2 separate regions of the Homo sapiens genome follow, and region 1 is linked to region 2. The links are contacts of gene promoters, found by promoter capture Hi-C in human tissues and cell types (Jung and others, 2019). All regions are on one chromosome and are shown on one strand. Each heading gives the region's core, a stretch centred on a gene start or on the middle of the fragment in contact. The rest is flanking DNA. Distances are from core to core; before and after follow the strand shown.

Region 1 (3,042 bases), core at 350-2,849, 210 kb after region 2:
GTATCACAAAGCCTCTTCACAGTGTGGGGGGTAGGGGGCTGTGGAAGGAAACAAAACTATACTTTTTGATAAAAATATAATTCTTTCTATCCACTTGCCATTTCATAAGTGATAATCAGTGGCTACTCGCCAGAACATAAAAAGAGCCACATGGATGTATGTTGGGACAAGACTTGGGAGAGGCCAGGAGACCGGTCTTCAGAGTTCTTGTCCTGTTGAAGAGGCAGCCCTGTCACCTGCCAAGTGCTGGGACGGACACTGCATCCAAATTATAGAACTCAACCCTTAAAAGTTCTGGGCAGCTGGTATACCATTCCCAGGGCACTTGAGGAAGCTGAGGCTCAGTGATGAGAAGGCACTTGCCCATTGGGCACAGCTGGAAGGTGATCATCAGCCTGCTTTGCCTGGGGATCAAAGCCCTGGTTCCTCCTGCTGTTTCACAACTGCCCCAGGGGAGCATGGCCTGGTGGGCAGAAGCTGCCAGGAGGTTGCCCTGAGGTAACTCAGTGGAGGGTGCCCACCAAGGGATGACTGACCTACAAGCTCTTCTACCTCCTGTGCTCTCAAGTCAGAAAGACCACCAGGCATCCCTGAATGTTCCTGGTGCTCCTGCTTCAGCATTCAGTGTCCCACCTCCAACAGGAGTAAGGGGCCAGAGCACCTTGTGTTCCCTTGAGCTCCAGGAGGCACCAAGTGGAGGAGGCTGGGGTGTGGAATGCAGCAGGAAGACAAGGCTCAGTGAGGCTCAGCCCCCTACTGCTGGTGGCCCCCAAAGCTTCTCTAAGCACGCTATTTAGCTTCTGCTGTTTTATCATCTGTTAAAAATAGTCATAGGCCAGGCATGGTGGCTCCCGCCTGTCATCCCAGTGCTTTGGGATGCCAAGGCATCAGGATCACTTGAGCCCAGGAGTTCCAGACCAGTCTGGGCAACATGGCAACATGGCAAGACCACATCCTAACATCGTAACAAAAGGAGACCCCCATCTCTACAAAACAAAACAAATTTTTTTTTTTTGAGACAAGAGTCTCGCCTTGTCGCCTAGGCTGGAGTGCGGTGGCGCCATCTCGGCTCACTGCAAGCTCCGCCTCCCGGGTTCACACCATTCTCCTGCCTCAGCCTCCTGAGTAGCTGGGACTATAACCGGGTGTGGTGGTGTACGGCTGTGGTTCCAGCTACTTTGAAGGCTGAGGTGGGAGGACTACCCGAGCCCAGGAGGTTGAAGCTGCAGTGAGCCGTGACTGCACCACTGCACTCCAGCCTAGGCAACAGAGCAAGACCCTGTCTCAAACAACAACAACAAAAGCCTCAGTCACAGTCCTTGCCAACTCAAACAAACCAAATGTTTCCCTTTCCTCCAGCTTCTCCTGGCAAGGCTTCCTGTGACTCAGTAAACAACCCGAGAAGCCCTCCCCATGACTCTCATTCCCTCACACATCCCATGTCTAGTTCAACCTATCAGCTCTGCAACCACAAACCAGCACCCCACTATTACCACTGGATCTCAGCCACTGCTCCCCTGGCATGGCAGCAGCCTCCTGATAGCCCCGTGAGCCCACTCTCACCCCTAAGTGTATCCTCCACTCAGCCATCAGGGAGCTTTCTAGGCACAAACTAGGTTCAGTGACTTCCTGCTTCGACACCCACAAAAAAACCAGGTTCCAGGCCCACAAGTAGATGCAGCCAAACACAACAGCAGCCCCACACCCATGCAAGATCCCTGTCCCCATGCCCTGGTCCCAGTTCAATACCAGCCCTTGAGAGGCTCCCCCTAACCTTGATGTGCTTGTTGCTGCAGTCCCTCAGCAGCGGGTTGGGCAGGCTGGTGCTGTGCCTCCTCCAGCTGTGGTAGACGCTGAGCACGACCTCCGCCAAGCCTGGAGGCCACCTTACCAAGAACTTGTGGCCCATGGCTTTCAGGTAGCGCATCATCAGCTCCAGGATGCCCCCGTTGGTTAGGTTCTCCAGCAGGAACTCATGCACGTCCTGCTTTTCTGCCCGGGGAGCAAGAACAACCTGACTTGAATAAAGAGTACCTTCCATGCCAGGGTCTCCTATTTACTTTGGGACAGTAAAGACTGTTCCCTCCCTCTACCATCTGATCCAGGTGGACATGATACCACGTTGTGGTGCTGAGATCAGGCTACTGGGTTCAATGCCTGGCTCCAACCCTCAGCAGCTATGATTGAGCCTCTCTGAATCTCCGTATCTAAGGTGGACATCAAAAGGGCAGACCTCCAAGTGCTGCCATGTGCACTAATCTCACTCAACAGTTATACACTGATACACACTCAACAGGTGTGCTTATATAGATTCAATTTGCAAAGCGAAGTCTCTGAATTTGGCCATAAGAAAGCATAGCAAGTATGAGCCTGGACATTTCAGAAGACCTCCAAGCTGACCACAGGGCTTAGGTCCAAGACTAATCCAGGCAGACTCTTGGCCACACTAAAAAACACCCCAGAACCATTCTCCCAGAACAAAACATAAGCAGGTTATAGGATAGTGGGAAGAAGAATTCCCAAAGTGAATGGTCACACTGCTCGATTCCTACCAGATTCCATGAATGTGGCTGAGTCAAATGACAGCCTTTGAGGCCCAATGCTTGGGAAGCTTTCCAGTTTGGCTTCTGACTGGACTTCATAGTTATTAAAGGAATCATCTTCCTCCTCAGGGTCCAGCTTTCTTAACCTGCATGTAACATGCCAAAATCACAAAGTCACAACACACGTTCTGACACAAGCATCTGAACTCTTCCTGTTAGAGAAACTAAATCTGAGTCAGGAAGAAGGCAGCTAAAATAAGTGGGTGGTGGGGTCCAGAACCCAGGCCTCCAGGAGGCTCTGCCTCTCTCCAGGGCCTCATGAGCCAGCATTTGGTCTGTATCCTGTCTCGGTCATTCATCTCATCAACAGATGATTACCGAGCACCAGCTATGTGCCAGGCACTGTGCTAGGCACCAAATACAGCAGCCCTAAATGTGGCAGATCCTGCCTGCAGTAAGCTTACCCTCTAGAGAGACACAGCCAATAAGCAGGTACACA
Region 2 (2,780 bases), core at 239-2,738:
CAACCTCCGCCTCCCGGGTTCAAGCGATTCTCCTGCCTCACCCTCCTGAGTAGCTGGGATTACAGGCGCGCGCTTTTTGTATTTTTAGTAGAGACAGGATTTCACCATGTTGGTCAGGCTGGTCTTGAACTCCTGACTTCAGGTGATCCGCCCGCCCCGGCCTCCCAAAGTGCTGGGATTACAGGCATGAGGCACCGCGCCTGGCCTGGTTTTTAATTACGAAGAAAAAATTACTATAGTCCCTTTGGTATCACCTACATTGGCAAAATTGCAGTCCCCCTCCACTCCCTGAAGCCACCAGAAATGACTGCTGTTGTCTACAAAGCCTACAGCTCTGATTTCATCTCAAGATGTGTCCTACTGGGTGACAGCAAATGCCATTTTTTAAAGGCTTGTATCTGTTATAAGCTTGGGAAATATTATCATGGCTTAAGAGGCTCTTTTGACAAAAGAAAACACTGTTCCCTGAAATCACCTGGGCTGTTCACGGGAATCTTTTCCTCGCCCTTCTGGTACTTGGACAAATGATCAAGGATATCAACAAATCAAGGTTCCCCGCATTTGAATGATCACAGAATTTTTGCGTGTTCTGTAAATGGGCTAAAACTACTGGAAACTGATTTCTTTTCGTCATCTCCAGGGCAGCTTGCCCAACGTGCCGCGACTATGATGTCTTAGACTTAACTACTTAAGGTAATACAATTACCAAATTCCTGGAAACGCAAAATTTCCTCAGACAGGTACCGGATTATTCACATCCAACCTGATGCAATTAACCACGTCTCAAGAAAAAAGGACGTTCCGTCCGCCTCGGGCGCCGGCCACAGCAGAAGCAGCACCGGCAGCAGGCCCGGGGTCCGCCGCCTGTGGCCCCTGCTCCTCCGCTCTGCGCCCTCGGGGCCACTGAACAACGCTGTCCCCGCCCCAGGCAAGGGACCCGGGCGATGGGGCGGCAGCCCCAGCCTCTCCCGGAGCGGCGGAAAGGCAAGCACGAGGGTCGCACCCGGCCTGTCTGCACACAGTCAAGCCGCAAGCGGGGTCCCAGAACCAGCTGAACCCCAACACCAACGGACGAAGGCCAGTGGGTCTCGGCGGCGAAGCCTGCGGGTTGTTCCAGAAGCCCCGAAGCCCAGAACGAGGACGGCGCGGGAAGGGAAAGGCGCAGGCGCGGGACACACTGGAGGGGCCCAGGAGCAGAGACGGCGCAGGCGCTGGGCCTGCCGGGGTCTGCGGGGACGCCCGGGCGCGGCAGCGCGGGCGGCGCTGAGGCGATAAACCAACCCGCCAGCGAACACTGCGGGAACCCGGCTGCTGCTCTTACCGCGCTGCACCGCATCGCTCCCTCGCAATCTCCTGGTTTGGGCTGGGCGGTGAGCTCACCCGGTGGCTCAGCCGAGACCCGTTGAGTCCGGCCTCAGGAAAGCAGCCTACCCCGCAGCGCCGCTTGCCGGGCCGCCCGGCCTCCCTCGCGGGCCCCGCCCTTGGCCAGCCCCTTCGCGCCCAGCAGGGCTGCGGCCGTCTGCGCAGGCGTCGTGGAGGCCCCGCCTACATTCCTTCACTGCGCAGGCGCCGCCGTCCCCCACCACCACCCCCTCCCCTTCCCCCATCTCCGGCTCGCGTCCGTCTCGGCACTGGGTCGCGCAGCCGCTCTGCCACTTGGCCGGTCAAGAAAGTAGCCGGCCAGCCGGTGCGCATGCCTCAGGTCTTGGGCTGGAGCCGGGCAAGGCGGGTCCCTTCAGAGGCCCCACTGGGCCCAGCGGAATGATGCTCAGAGTCCGCTAGTCCCAAAAGTTCTCCTCAGCGTGTTTACCGTGTGCCAAGGACTGTGCTATGCATGAGCCAGACAGCAGTGAGGAAAACACAAAGCCCTGTCCTCCTGGCACTCCCGGTACATAAGGGAACAGACAAAAAGAATAAGCGAGCAACATATATGTATATATATATGTATATACATATATATATACGTATATATATATACGTATATATATATGTATATATATACATATATATATACGTATATATATATGTATATATATGTGTATATATATACATATATATATGTATATATATATATATATATATATAAAATATTAAAGAAATTCTGGGGGAGTTCGAGTTCCATCGGCCCCCATCCGGGCCACCCTGCCACCTTAGCGGCTGCTCCTCCCCAGAATGCTGATGCCTAAGAAAAACCGGATTGCCATTTATGAACTCCTTTTTAAAGAGGAAGTCACGGTGGTCAAGAAGGATGTCCACATGCCTAAGCACCTGGAGTTGGCAGACAAGAATGTGCCCGGCCGGGCGCGGTGGCTTAGGCCTGTAATCCCAGCACTTTGGGAGGCCGAGGCGGGCGGATCACGAGGTCAGGAGTTCAAGACCAGCCTGGCCAAGATGGTGAAACCCGTGTCTACTAAAAATACAAAAATATTAGCCAGGCGCGGTGGCAGACACCTGTAATCCCAGCTAGTCGGGAGGCCAAGGCAGGAGAATTGCTTGAACCCAGGGGGCGGAGGTTGCAGTGAGCCGAGATCGCGCCCCTGCACTCCAGCCTGGGCGACAGAGTGAGACTCCTCTCAAAAAAAAAAGAATGTGTGTGCCCAACCTTCCTGTCATGTAGTCCCGAGGCTACTACGTGAAGGAACAGTTTGCCTGGAGACATGTCTACTGGTACCTTACCAATGAGGATATCCAGTATCTCCGTGATTACCTTCATCTGCCCCTGGAGATTGTGCCTGCCACCCTACGCCGCAGCCGTCCAGGGACTGGCAGGCCTCGGTCTA

The links. Contacts are between HindIII fragments. The study calls those that stand out against the background at their distance.
Region 1: a fragment that was not itself captured here is called in contact with the fragment with the promoter of SPECC1L-ADORA2A in region 2 in 2 of the 25 tissues and cell types used here (aorta and spleen).

The regions. Positions count from the first base shown.
Region 1 is chr22:24,058,874-24,061,915 of GRCh38, reverse strand. CABIN1 (calcineurin binding protein 1) reads right to left here. Exons shown (of 37, transcript NM_012295.4): 11 at 2,553-2,689; 12 at 1,775-1,992. Among named protein-coding and RNA genes, the nearest start is that of CABIN1, 49 kb to the right of the region's middle. The HindIII fragment of the contact is 4,065 bases long and covers 1-3,042 here.
Region 2 is chr22:24,269,525-24,272,304 of GRCh38, reverse strand. It overlaps SPECC1L-ADORA2A (SPECC1L-ADORA2A readthrough (NMD candidate)), which reads right to left and starts at 1,488. Exons shown (of 20, transcript NR_103546.1): 1 at 1,322-1,488. It overlaps SPECC1L (sperm antigen with calponin homology and coiled-coil domains 1 like), which reads right to left and starts at 1,474. Exons shown (of 17, transcript NM_015330.6): 1 at 1,322-1,474. It also overlaps the pseudogene RPS10P29. RefSeq lists an enhancer at 1,016-1,095 and a silencer at 1,156-1,685. The HindIII fragment of the contact is 12,728 bases long and covers 1-2,780 here.